2 separate regions of the Homo sapiens genome follow, and region 1 is linked to region 2. The links are contacts of gene promoters, found by promoter capture Hi-C in blood cells and fetal thymus (Javierre and others, 2016). All regions are on one chromosome and are shown on one strand. The core of a region is centred on a gene start or on the middle of the fragment in contact, and the rest is flanking DNA. Distances in the headings are between cores, read along the strand shown.

Region 1 (7,720 bases), core at 4,461-6,960, 280 kb before region 2:
CGTAAAAGTCTACATGATGTAAAAGTTTGTCGACATGCGCTTCTGCAATAAACAAAACTCATCAATAGTAAATGAAGCATTGGTGCAGTGGCTGTCTCAGAAGTGAGGCCCCCAATTGACTGGAAAAGGGGACACGGGGACTTTCTGGGGGTGATCATGCTCTGTATCTGACAGAGGGTGACTTCGTCAAAATTTAGTTAATGTATGCTTCAGATTCGTGCATTTCACTATAGGTACATTTTATAACAAATGAAAAAGGTATAAATAAATGATGAGCTCTAGTTAATGATACGCATACTAACACGTGTTTAGGAGTGGAGTATACTAATGTCTGCAACCTACTACAAAATGCATTTTTAAAAAGACAGATTGAGGATGCTTAGACGGACAGAGCAGTAGATAGGTGAGATTAAAAAAGAAGTCTAATATTAATGACAGAATCATGGCAGTGGGTAGATAGGTGTTTGCTGTAAAATTACTCTAACTTTGATGAATGTTTAAATATTTTCATAATAAAATATTCGGGGAAACACATGCCACAGCCCCACAGCCCCACCTTACCCTACACCCATCCCTTTCCCATCACCCCCGCTCAATCTGCACTCTTCCCATTTTTTGTTTGCTTTTAGTCCTCCAAGCCCCTTACTCTTACTTGGCAACAGGATTTTCTGGTAGGGCAGAGTTTTGGCCTGGCTGGCTTCTACTGTTAAAAAAAATATTCTGTAGACACTTATTAAAATGGTAATGGAGACTTGATTCAAGACCGTCGCGCTGGGGGTCAACACCGTCGCAATAAGAGAGAGACAGAGCTCAACCCTGAACACAACAAGAATAAGTGGGATTTACAGCCAAGGAACATGGCGTGGAGGGGTGGTGTTAGCAGGTGGAAAGTTACTAAGCAGACATCAAGGGAAGAGAGTGCTGGCTTAACTAACCTAGCAGGATTCTGACAAGATGCAGCAGGAGGCCTGGGGCTCCAGCTCCAGCACCCAGTGAGTCAGCTTAGCAGGATCCTGGGCAGGAACAGGAACCACTCTCCCGGGTCACTGAACTCTGCTAAGGGAACTGATATTCAAGGCTGCAGAAACACTAAGAGGGGAATGTTACAAGAACGTGGGTCTAGAAAGTAAACTGACCACTCAGAGATGCCAAAGGGATTGCTCAACCCCCTCAGAGCCATCTGTTTTCTTCGTGGCCAGGCCTCTGCAGGGAGTCAGGTGGAGCCCTGGCAGCACCAGCCAGCAGCCTGTGTCCCTGGAGGCCTCTCTCTCTCTCCCTTCCACTCAGATGTGGTTCTTCAGTCACTGGCTCTGCTCTGGTGAATGCACTCCTTGAGAAAATAAATGTTAACCCTGTAATCCAAAATGATGAGCGCCGTTTACACATTTGCTCCTGAGCAGAAATGTCCCAAGGATTCTCATCCCCCCATGAAGTGCAAAATGGGCCGCAGACACCGGGCTCTGCCCTTTCTCGCCTCAGTCTGCAAGGCTGCCAGCAGGCTTCCCAGTGCGGATCAGTTTCCTAATGATGTGGCTTCATCTCTATTGGAGCCAAATGCATTACCAATGTTGGCCTACGGTCTAGAAGCATCTGCATTTCCTCCATCGTTGGGGAGAGAGAGGGGAGAAGGAGGGAGCCTGTGTGTAAGGGACAGGCTTGACCCCAGAGGACTCCGGGCACTCCATAAGGAAGGCTCCTGGGCTTTGCCTTTGAGAGGCTACCAAAACCCGTGGCTGCTCAGTCCAAGCTCCCTCTATAGACACCGAGTGATAATTGCTCAAAACCCAAAGTGCAGAATCTCAACTCTTGGCCAACTTGATTTAACCACTTGCACCTTTAGGTGCTGTTTATGTGTTTGGTCATTTATTTATTATAGCATTGTTTAGTGTTGTTATTATTGCTTATTTATTATAGAGAATTTCTGCCATTTACCTAATTTCTCACTCTACTAATTCAGATGATGAGATCAATAGTCAAAAAGGCAGCCTGGGAGACCACGGCTTTCTCTTTCATCACCTGGCAGAAGGGAAATATGCCCCCTCCTGGGCAGCTGGACTCCTCCAAGTACATGGGTGCTGGAGGCCCCAGGCTCAGTCCTAGGTCCATTGTTTCTCTCTGTGTCTCTGTAGCATGTCTTTGAAGCTGTAGGCTGCTCTGTTACTTTTAATCGTGTTTAAACATCATCACTGATGCCCAGGCACAACAGTTTACAAGGCAGTCTACCTCTCCAGACACATGACCACAGAGAAGGCAAAACATTTGCTCAAGGTCACCAAATATCAGGAGCAGCTGCCCAGCTACTGTAACCTTTCACTTCCTATTACAGCATACTGAACACGGCTCCTGCAGCTCCTGAGAGCACCCTACACTGGTGTCTGTCCTACAAGGGTTAGAGAGGTCGCTGCATCAGGCCAGCTGACCCTCCCTGCAGCATGTGCCTGCAGGGCACGTCCTGACAGAGGATGACCACCGGCGGTGGAATCACATACAGGGAAATAGGCCAGCACTTCAGCTCCCACCTCACACCCCACCTACCACCATGCTCCTGCTATTTGGGTGACCTGCACGTCCTTCCTAATGACAAAAGACAGGGGATTTGTGTGTATTTCAGCTTACCCTCTGCACAACACATCCTCTTGAGACTAGAGCCCCAGTGGCCAGGGAAGGTGGGAGCCACAGAGAAGAACCAACTCCCACACTTGGGAGATGACCATTCTGCTCACAAGCACCTGGCCAGGGGCTGCCCTCTCTTTCCCTTCTCTGAAAATCTCTCCCCATTTCCTGTCTAACTAGGAGGCATATGCGCAACCCTGTTTGAAGACCTTCCTTCCCTCACCCAGCAGTAAACACCATCTGGGCCACCTGCTGTATCTGCTGGGGTGCATGGCTTTTCTAGGGACGCTGGATTGACAGTGGGGTGAGATGGTCACTGGGCCTCGGGTAACAAGGTCCCCTGTCCCACCACTGAACATGAGCATCCATGAGTAATATTGTTCCCGCTGCCGGGTTCCTGCTGATCCAGCCCCAGCCATGGCGGAGCCCCAGGATCACAGCAGGTCTGGGCTGACCCTGGCTGACCCTCACCTCCACCACTCCCAGGAGAGTCCTCTGGGTGCCCTGCAAAGGCCCAGAGTTTTCTGGTGTTTCTGGCAAAGCTGCCACCTCGCCATAAGGGCATTTGCCACAGGGTCACCTTCAGGCATGGAGGGTGGGGTTGAGAGAACAAAGGGAGCAGCTGTCTGTTCAGAGCCTCCTTTCCACCCTCGCCACTCCTGGAGTCACATTCCAGCCCAGGTCCGCAGCATCCCAAGCTGGGGACTTTGTCACCCCACAGGGCACCCAGCTGATCAGGTCCTCTCAGTCTGGGGAGAAGAACTCACAATCCTGGCAATGAAGGAACTCAGGGCCCACTGGAAAGCCACACTGAGCAAAGGACAAAGACACACCCAGGCTTGCTCTGCAGGACTCCATTTCTGGGAAGCTCAAGGACAGGCGACAAACGAGTCTATAGGGCAGGATGGGGGCTGCCAGGGCAGGATGGGCATGAGGGTGAGCTGCAGAGGCAGGAGGACACACCGTCTGGGGCAAGGCAGATGTCACAGGTCTGGACAAAGTGGTAACACGGGTATATGCGTTAATGAAATCCCCCAGATTAGACATTTTGTTGTCTATAAATTCTACCTCACTCACAGTGATGTTCTAAACTCAGGTGAGTTTTCCAAGCAGTGCAGAGGACCAGCGCCAGCAGCATGACGCCCAGAGGGGAGGAGCAAGAGACACCCGTGGGCTCCCACATTCATCCTGTGGCTGCTGCTCCCTCTCCTGACACCCCCACTGCCTGCCAATGGGTCTCACTGCACCTTCCACCCGGCCCCACCCACAGTTACCATGAGACTCCAGATCGTTCCCTTCCCTGCTCACACTCCCTCCAGGAGCTTCCTCTTCCTGGAGCAGGCATGCCCAGCCCCGCCTCAGGGCCTTTGCACTGGCCCTTCCCGCTGCCTGGGGCTGTTTCCTGTCTAGGCAGGGCTTCTCACCTTTCCAGTCTCATAGAGTCCTCCCTGACCAGGTCCAGTGGCATCATCTCTCTCTATCCCATACTCTCACTTCCAACAGAGAGACTAATTTCCTGATATTAATTATTGATCACTATTCGCCATCCTCCCACACACCCTAATGCTGGGCTGTGCAGTGCCACAGCCACCAGCCACATGTGGCCACAGGGTGCTTGAAATGGGGCCAGTACAATTGACACCCACATACACAGGGAATTTCAAAGACTCAGTACACACACCCAAAATAAAATAACCTATGTTATTAATGATTCTTCTTATGTGTTGAAATAATATTTTGGATATATTAGGTTAAGTAAGAAATATTATAAACATTACCTTCACCTGTTTCTTTTTTACTTTTTGAAATGTGTCTCCCAGAAAGTTTTAAATTGCTCCTGGGTTCGTGTCACATTTCTGTCTGGCAGCAGCCCTGCAATGTAGTGTCCATGGCTCGGTCACCCAGGCTCCGTCTCTAGCTCCTAGACTACCTGGTGCAGGGGGAAGCTGGTGAAAAGTCTGTTTACTGAATAATGAGTTGTGAAAGGAGAACCCAGAGTTTTTTACTCAAATAAAGGTTAATTCTTCTGTTTGAAAAGTTCCCTAGCACAGGGCATGGCCTGAGTCTCCTGTGGCCTCTGGAATCACACCTCTGCCTTAGTGATTTCTAGACCTTGACCAAATGCTCACGGATACTCAGGACCTCTGAAGACTCCGGAAGGCCGAGACCTCTATCTTTCCCTTTTCTGAGGAAATGAAGCTAGGGGGTCGTATGCTTTTAGGGCCCAGGGGGCCTTGACACCTCTCTGGAGGGCAGGGTGACCTAAGCTTGGGAGGAGGGACAGGTCTTTGGGAAGAGATGGAGCTGAGGGGGTGGAGTGGGTAGAAGGGGGGCATAGGTGTGGAAGGGGTGGGGGAAGAGGGGCCAGGAGTGGGGTGAGAAGAGGGGAAAGAAGAGGATAGGAGGGACAGGGACAGGGAGAGGCCAGGAATGGGTAGGAAGGGAAGACAGAGGAGGGGCGGGACGAGGGAGGGGCGATGAAGAGGGGCCGAGCTGGGGTGGGGGCGAAGTGGGAGCAAGGACAGGAGTGGAGGAGGGAGATGAGGGGCATGGGAGGCGGTGTCTGGGGGTTGAAAGGGGAAAGGGACAGAGGAGAAGGAGCCTGAAGAGTGGCGGCATGGAGGGGCCCGAAGTGGGGAGGTGGGAATGGTCGGATGGATGGGGAGGAATGGGGAGGATAGGAGAGGCAGGGGAGGCTGGAAGACAGTAGGAGAGGAGGGGGAGGGGAGGGGAGGGGATGGATGGGAATGGATAGGGAAGGCCAGGGAGACTGGGGGGCCAGGGGAGGAGGGGAGGGAGAGGGGAGGCGGGAAGGGAGAGGAGAGGCCGGGAGGGGCTGGGAGGGGAGGGAAGGGGATGGATGGGGAAGGACAGGGAAGCCTGGAGGGGCAGGGGAGGCTGGGATGGGAGGAGACTGATAGGGAGGGACCTGGAGGCGGGGAGAGGCAGGGGAGGCGGGGAGAGGCAGGGGAGGCGGGGAGGGAGAAGGGAGGTGGGAGGGACGAGGCGTTCCGGAAAAGGGAGTGCAGGCCGCGGTGGGGTGGGGCGGCGAAGGCCGGAAGGGATAAAACCGCAGTCGCCGGCCTCGCGGGGCTCACGGCCTCGCCTCGGTATCGCAGCGGGTCCTCTCTATCTAGCTCCAGCCTCTCGCCTGCGCCCCACTCCCCGCGTCCCGCGTCCTAGCCGACCATGGCCGGGCCCCTGCGCGCCCCGCTGCTCCTGCTGGCCATCCTGGCCGTGGCCCTGGCCGTGAGCCCCGCGGCCGGCTCCAGTCCCGGCAAGCCGCCGCGCCTAGTGGGAGGCCCCATGGACGCCAGCGTGGAGGAGGAGGGTGTGCGGCGTGCACTGGACTTTGCCGTCGGCGAGTACAACAAAGCCAGCAACGACATGTACCACAGCCGCGCGCTGCAGGTGGTGCGCGCCCGCAAGCAGGTGCGTGCCGCCCCCCGCAGGGTCCGAAGCCCCGGCCCCGCCGTCCCAGCCTCCCCCCGCGCTGCTCCCGGACCCCGTGCTGCTCCTCTCCGGCGCCTGGGCTTCTCACCCGGACCCTGTTCCCGGTCTTCGCTGTCACCCCCGAGCCCTTGGCGGGCGTGTCCGGGAATGCCCTGAGTCTGGCCTGGCCTGGAACCGCACGGACACGTCAGGTCCGCGCCCGGCGCCTAAGATCAGCTTCCAGGAGCCAGCTCGAGCTGCGCCGCAGCGCGGGGGCAGGCACAGGACGTCCCACACAGCTCTGTCCCGACCTCCTGGGACGCTGGGCTCCGGGTGCGCTGCTGAATACGCAGGAGAAGGAAAAACAGAGCCCCTCATCTGGCTGCCTCCTTGTTCTTCCACCAAATAATTTTTAAGCACTTTTGTTTCTTTTAACTTTTTATTCTCCCGTAATTTCAGACTTACAGAGCAGCTGCAAAATAGCACAGGGCATCCCTGTAGATCTTTCACCCAGATCCCTCAGATGTTAGCACAGATGTTAACATTTTGCCCTGTTTGTTCCCCCCAGCTCACTTTCCGAATGTGAATATGGGTGTGTGTATATGTACTGTATATGCATTTTTTGCCTGAATCTTTTGAAAGTAAACACTTCAGTGTGTTTTTCCTAAAAACAAGGGCAATATCGCACATAATCACTATTCCATTTTGAAAATCAGCACTGACACATTCATGATCTAATGCTCAGACTCATTCAGCTTTCCCTGTCTGTTGACGGCCTTCGTGCCCTAGGACGCTCCTGGGCCATGAGTGCATGAGTTCAGCCCTGTCCTGTCCCCTCGGCCTCTTTTAACCTGCAGCAGCAGCTGGGTCTGTGCCACGACCGTGCCATTTCCCAGGGTCTAGCAGGTGTGGATGGAGACTATGCTGACTCTGGGTGGGCTTGATGCTGCTCAAGATGAGATCTAGGCCATGCGGCTCATCCTCCTCCCAGAATACTCTCCGCAGGGGCCACACGTGAGCCTGGCACCTTGTCCTGCAGAGCCCTGCTTCCCTCCCCAAGTCACACCCCTGGGCACAGTCCCCTAGGACTAGCGGCCTTCACCCTCAGGCCGGCTGACCACCCCCTACATCCCAGGGCAGCTGAGTCCCTGCTGGGGTGGAGCATGCCTGACCCTGCCTCTATCAGCTGATGCAGAGTTAGACCTCAGCCAGATGAAGACACCCAGCAGACCGGAGTAGGGGGTCGGATCGGGAGGGAGCTTCAGTAGGGCTACCAGGCCCAGCTTGACCTGCATCCCATGGCAGAGCAGCGAACAGTGACACAGACTTTAGAGCTCCTCCACCTTCTCTTGGAAATTCAGAGGAGTCCAGACCAGCCGCGTTTCTCCCGCAGCCGTCAGCTGGGGCCCTCTCCCTGCACAGGAGGGCCATTCCCTGGTGTAGGGTCCCCGCTGGCCTGCACCTCTCTCTCACTGGGAGTGAAGCATGGGGCATTGTAGATCGTTGGGCCCTGGAGCCTATTTTACAGAGGAGCAGACTGACACCAGAGGGATCACAGGCCTTGCTTGTGCTTCTACAGGACTTGTGTGTGGTTCCACAGGGCAAGGTCTAGCACCCTGGTCCCAGGGTCCCTCATCCCATGCTTCTCCACAGTTCTGACAAGTCATGTTTTGGG
Region 2 (6,641 bases), core at 3,645-6,144:
AATCAGCATGTGGTTCTGAGTGAATCTTGCACCACATTCATCACAGACAAAAGGTTTTTCCCCTGTATGAATTCTGAAAGTACAACATTCAGATGATAACTTAGGATGTATTTCAAAGCTCACTTTGCAATACAATTTCCACTCTATCCTGCAAAAATCGTTTACTCCAAGAGACCTAATGAGAATGACTGTAGTGACAGGTCAAGAGCCCATAATCTCCATCCCAAAATAAACTGAGTTTCTGCACAAGGTCAATGGATCCACACATTTTCCATAAATCACTGACTGGAATGTTCATCTACACCTGATCACAAGCCCTACTGCTGATGCTATAAGGCATGTGCAGGTAGAGACCAGGCCTTTGCAGATTTTTTTAAACACTAAAGACCACAATCTGATATTTGTAAAGCTGTCTCATACAGAATAATCAGCCACAAACACCTTAGGAACTACTGCTGATTAAGTGTCACATGATCAAAAATGTTACTCTCATTTCCTAATATGACATCACCAGTAGAGAAAGGAGAACTGTTCTCAAATTGCCGAAGGTGGCATTTTTAAAATGCATAAGCATTTTAATGTCACAACTAGTATGAAGTAGCAATCAAACATAATTTACTGAGCACTTCCTAAACCAAGTATTTTTAACTTATTATATAGAGTAAAAAATGAACACCATGCTGCTAACCCAAGACTGACCTAGGTTTGAGGGCAGATCTAGAAGAGAAGAGAAAACAACTGCTTGTTGGGATTTCAAGAATAAATATACTAAGAACTATAAGAAAACTTATTTAAAAACATCACCACACACCTGCAGCTCAGAAACATATTAAGAAACAGAAAGCACTGTCTGTCCTGATTCTGGAGTGCAGACTGCCTAGATGGCACTCCTTCCAAGCCTGAGAACCAAAAGACCAGAGACGAGTCCTAAAGCCTGAAATGGCATCTCACTGAGGTCTCTACTGAGACTGTGGGACCCGGATGGTCACAGAACCCCAAGATCTAAACGAAGAGTCAGGAAAGGAGAAATAAAGGTAACGAGGCCCAACTCTTCCTCCAGCACGGTGGGGCGAGCCCGCGGCCGCTGTCGCGGTCCCACCAGAGGGACGTCCCGGCCAGCAGGGGCGCCCCAGGGGTCTCAGAACAAGGGAGCAGAGCCATCACTCGCAGCCCCTGTACCTTGACAGAGAACTAAACGCTGTCTCGAAATAAGCCCCCAGGTTTGGAGCGGAGAAATTAAGCAGTGAGACATCAAATCCCAGGACGACCTCAGTGCTTGACACACCCTTCCAGTGCGCAGGGACCCCTCCGGACGGCTCCCCGCGTACCTCATGTGCGTCTTGAGCGCGGACGGCTGCGAGAACCTGGCGCCGCACTCGGTGCAGCCGTAGGGCCGGTCTCCCGTGTGTGTGCGCTCGTGCAGCCGCAGCGCTGTCTTGGAACTCAGGCCCTTGCCGCACTGGCCGCAGCGGTGCCGCTCGCCGCCGCCCTCATGCACCTGCAGCACGTGCCGCTTCACGTCCTTCTTGCGCTTGAACTTCTTCCCGCACAGCTCGCATGGGAAATGGCGCTCGCTGCTGTGCACGTGGCGCTGGTGGCTCTTCAGGTTGCAGCGGTTGGCGAAGGTCTGGCCGCAGGTGTCGCAGCGGTACACCACCTCGGTGGCCACGCCGTGGCGGTGCTTGCTGTGCTTCAGGAAGCTCTTCTCATACAGAAACGCCTTCTCGCAAATGCTGCACTTAAAGTTGCTCTTCTTCTTCTCCCCTTCTTCGTCCTCCTCCTCCTCCTCCTCTTCCTCCTCCGGCCCTGCTTTCTTTGACAATTCCTCCAACTCAGCACCTGCCTGGCAACCCTCATTTTTGGAAACCTGCTCCATCTCCGTGCCCACCCTGTCCGGGCTTTGGTCCTGGGGACACCTGTAGTCCCCCACATCACCCTCAGCAGTTTTCTGCTGCTCTCGGAGTCTTCTCGTATATTTCTTTTTAGGGATCTCCACAAAGACCTTCCTCCCAGCCAGCCTTCCACTAGCTCTCCTGATTTTAGGGTAGGGAGGTTTAACTACCTCTTTCTTCTTGTCTAGTTTGTCCTTGGACTTCTTCGGTGGCAAATCTGAAGACATGCCATTGCTGGCTCTCTCTCCTGGGTAGTCCAAGGAATCCGTGAGACCACTGGGGTGAGGGCCATCGGTGGCCACACTTGCCCTGGGGGCAGGAGCAGCACTAACTTGGGAGCCACTGCTCACCTCCACCTCCTGAGACTCTGAGAAATTTTGCAACTCCAAAAGTACTGACTCTAACATCTGTTTCTTTAATTGAAAACAAGTTTCTGATAAATCCAAACATTTCAGCTTTTCAGCCACTTCCAGCATTCGCTGCACCCGATCTTCTTCCACCTGTACCTTTGCAGTGTAGACAAACTCAAGAAATGAAGCAAAGTCAGCAACCTGCACTTCATTTAAGTAGACATTAGTCCTAGTACCATCCACACTCTTCTCATTAAGGAACACTTCCTTAAAAAACTTGCTGGTGGCAGCCAGCACTGCCTTGTGGGCCATGAAGTCTTTGCGGACACCCTGATACTCCACGCTGACTGTCACGTCACACAGGTGACCCAGGAGGCGAAGCTCATGCATCTCATGCAGTAGGTTAAATGGGGAGGATTTGGATTCCAGCAGAACTGCACCGCTTTCCATCTTTCTTCCTTCCAAAAACAGCTTTGAAAAAGAAACAAGAATTATGCATGAGCAACCACTGATGCAAAAGGACTAAAATTTATGAGGATTCCTTCAGTACTTGAGAGGATATAGACTCATTAACAACCTAGCTTTACTCAGGTAAAGATTCGAATGACATTTTACTTCTTAGCAGTTTTCTAAAGTGAGGTTCCTCATGCATTTTCCTAAGGTAATAAATTGGCATGAAAAATAGTGTATTCTAAGGTTTCCTCCAGTGATAAACAAATGATGGAAGTTGTGATTAGTGAAATACATTAACACAGTAATTTGCTCACCAAGGTCACTGTCTAATTTGCTTACATAGTCCCCAAAACTGTAAAAGAATTCATGGCAACAATAATGTCTAGTTCTCTGATCAGGAAACCAGATAATTAAAACACATAGCCACCACCATCTGGGAGCAAATCCAAAACCTCAGGGAATCATTTCTGCCTTTGAAAAGAACCAACTAAATAACTACTTTCCATGAGGAAAACTTCTTGGAAAAGTAGTTCACAATTCATCGCCCATTCCCAACATCCTAAACTCCTCAGAATTTGAATTATTGTTACTCTACTGAAATAATGTTAAGTTCCACAGCTTTTACAAGCTGTGCTACTTTGAGCAAGCAACTTCTCTGAACCCATTTCCTCCTCTGAAGAAGGCTGACCGGCTGTTACCAGGGTTCCATGAGCCTGAAACTTGTTGGCTAGTTTATTGGTTTCCCACACATAGGCCAAGGTGCTACAGTGATCCCCATTTCATAGATGAGGACCTATCAAGGTAACAGTCAATGGCTGGTTGGGACATGAGCCAGGGCCTGGTGCCCGGATTCAACTCAGACTACTCAACACACTCTTCCCCTCAGCCTTGCCAAAGGCAAAGGGCTATCTTTAGCCCCTAAATCTTTCCACTGCAGCGGGCATGCAAATTTCACCAACCCCACCTAAGGCCTCCAGATACCGTCACCCCATCGTCATTTCTGCTGCTTTGCCACAAACTCCCTGAATGTGTTTTCTCCCTGCCCTTCAGCTCCTGAATCTACCTTCCTCTTTGATTCCTGTTTCCATCCATCCAAAGCACATGCCTTCCTTCTAGCCTCCTTCGGCCAGACCACAGATGTCACCTCGGATTCAACGTGTCTAGAAAAAAAGTTGTCATCATCTTCCCTGATAAACTAGTCCCACCCCTCTCCCCTTCTCCAGTCTCATCAATGAGACCGCTCCCCACAACTAGCAGTCCCTCAAACATGGAAAAGACTGCCCTCTGGGAGTTCCGCTGTAAACAGGTACCTATGAGGCTTGATCAATGTCGCCTGAAGGAGACGCCCCAGTAAAACTGTGAGAACACTGACAAAGCCTAAGGAAGGGATCTATAAGAGTGGGGCTCTTATAGAGCCACTGGGGTTTCAGTGGTCCCAGCCCCAGCCTGGGGAAACAAGACTGCAGAGGGCTCTCTCAGCCTGATGCCCTGACTTCCCCAGACCTCTGCCAACAGGGCCCTCGAGGAGACCTGATTTCTCAATCAACAAAGTGGGTTCTGAGCGCGATTTCCTATGTTGCTTGGCTACTGGAGTGCAGGCACTGGAGGTGGCGACAGGGCAGTCTGCGGCCGGTGACAGCTGCGTATCCGCCGAATCTCATTGGCATTCCGGCCGCCTCCCAGTGCGCCCGGCATCTGCACCAACGTCGGCGGCCCCTGAATCCCCGAGGCTCACGGGGCCAGAGCCCTTCCAGGAGACGCTGCTACCCGCAGCCCAGTCCACGGCCACAAGGGCCGGGGTTTCCAGTGGGGCTTAAATCCGCCGCTGTCCTCGCCGCCCTCACGGCACCTCCCACCCTTCCCGCGCCACTTGGCCGCCCCAGCGCCCGGACGCCGCTCGGCCACTCCAAAGACGACCCAGAGAACAAACTACTGCAGCCACAGAGAAGCCCCTCCTCGGCCCGACGCGCCGCCTCCCGACGCGGGCATCCGGGGCCGCGTGGATCAGGCCCTCGGGCCGCCCCCTGCCCCCGCTCCCGCATCCCCGAGACGCGCAGGTCCACAGAGCAGCCGGGGCGCGCGGACAAAGAGGCGGCGGCGGGCGGCGAGGGGCCGGAGCCAGGCCTACGGGCCGCGCACTCACCTCCCAGCCGGCGCCCCCGCTGCAGCCGCTGTCCGCTGGACCAGGCCGGTAGGAACGGCCGGCCCGGCTGGGCGTGGCGTAGCACCCTGCGCGGGCACCGCCGATTGGTCGCTGCAGGCCCCTCCCCTCCCGCGGCCGGCCCCGCCCCTGGCGGGGCTGAGGAAGGGGCTGAGCCACACGTCGGGCGGCGGAGCGGTTCGGGCAGTTACCTGATCTGGCCGCGCGACTGACTGGCGACGCCGGATTGCGTCACCCGCCGCATTGCGTCACCCGCCGCGAGCCAAGGCCTGCGCCTGCGCAGGAGACAGCGACGTCTGCGCTGCGGCACGCCACAGGGGGGCGGGGCCAGTCGCGAAAAGTCACGTGAGCGTCAGATTCGCGTGGTCACTTTCGCGTCCATTCCGGGCTTCTGGCCGCAAGGCGCCAGCGCTTCCGGGCCCCAGCAGCCTGCGGTCAGGGCCTGCAGCTGGCTTCCCACTAAGAGCTGCTCACGTCCCCGAGGCCGAGCGCACCCTTAGGGCACGGTGGCCACGCGAGGGACCTCGCGGAAAGCCGGGCTTGGAGCTGGTACTCACCTTGGCTACTAGGGGCGCAGATGCCTCCACGGGCGCTGGAGAACTGGCGCCAGGCGGGGCTCGGCGCGGCGCTCTCCTCTGGGGCGCTTCTTCCGCGGTGCCCCCGCCCTGCTGGGGGGCTCGGCGCGCCAGGAGCCGGGACCGCACCCTGCCGTCTTTACTGCAGGGCTTTATTTCCAGGAGTTCCCATTCGGGCGAAAGCTTTGTTCACTACAGAACTTCCCCAGAGACCCATCCACTCTTCGGGGAAAGCACAATTGATTCCCTAAGATTCGCTGACTCCTCGAAATCTTGCTGTTTCCACCAATTCTTGCTCAATACTAACTAAAGCCCGCTTTGAAACACCTTCCTTGAGTCAGACTTCCAGTTCTCAATAAACTGACCTTGCCTTTTGCTCCCAGCCATTGGTAAAGCTTTGCCAGGTCATGCTGTCCCTTACTGTGGCCAGCAGTTAACTCAGCCTTGTCTTACCGACACGTTGAGTTTGTAATGTTTGGGGACTGTCAGGACAAATACAAATTTAAAATAAGGTTTACTACTTCCTGTTGAAAATATGAGATTTCCCTCCCTTTTTCTTCGAACATTTACTTTTAGAAAATTGGTAATTAGTGTAAGTACTTTTTCCTCTCTTTGAAATATATAAATCCTTTTGAAGACTAGTTAGGCCTTTTTGTGCGCTTTATAACCTAGATATGTCTTTTTCTAGGACCTAGGAGCCATCTCTTTAAGTATCAAGGGAGTTAATGCCCCTGTCTCCCAGTTTTAATGGGGGAGTAGGAGCCTAACTTCAGTGGGCCCTTTGCTCCAACTTACAAAATTATCTCATATCATAAAGATACAAGTTTCTTTTTCCTCTAGATAAAGCCAATTGGCTAACACAGAGGATCATCCCAAATATCAGGTTAGATGAACTGTGTGTGATGAAAAATGCTGCCAAGTTCCCTTGAGAGCTAGTTATTGTTTATCTTGAAAATGTGTGTAATAGATTGCTTGGCTGCACAAAAGAGTGAGATTTCGTTCTGTCTTTGCAGTCTCTTAATGGATTGCCTGTGATGGGTATCACATTCTAGTTTAATGCTTATTCAATTACAAAGTGTTTTCTTTCTCCACTACCTTTCTGAAGAGGGTTGGGAGATTGTACTTTTAATTATATTTCCTGAACAGGAGCCAGCTTCCCACACATAGTAGGTGCTCAATAAATATTTGAAGAATGAATGAGTGACAGAAA

Evidence for each region. The method cuts DNA at HindIII sites, captures the fragments that hold promoters and counts their contacts. A CHiCAGO score of 5 or more calls a contact.
Region 1: the fragment with the promoter of CST3 here is called in contact with the fragment with the promoter of GZF1 in region 2 in 7 of 17 cell types (M1 macrophages, M0 macrophages, M2 macrophages and 4 more); the score reaches 10.8 in M1 macrophages.

Annotation. Positions count from the first base shown.
Region 1 is chr20:23,635,945-23,643,664 of GRCh38, reverse strand. It overlaps CST3 (cystatin C), which reads left to right and starts at 5,710. Exons shown (of 3, transcript NM_000099.4): 1 at 5,710-6,045. The coding sequence starts at 5,803. RefSeq lists silencers at 5,556-5,895, 5,926-6,175. The HindIII fragment of the contact is 8,524 bases long and covers 4,883-7,720 here.
Region 2 is chr20:23,360,435-23,367,075 of GRCh38, reverse strand. It overlaps GZF1 (GDNF inducible zinc finger protein 1), which reads right to left and starts at 4,894. Exons shown (of 6, transcript NM_022482.5): 1 at 4,839-4,894; 2 at 1,329-2,713; 3 at 1-73. The coding sequence starts at 2,692. RefSeq lists enhancers at 3,295-3,354, 5,169-5,428 and silencers at 4,609-5,098, 5,519-5,608. The HindIII fragment of the contact is 6,657 bases long and covers 1-5,616 here.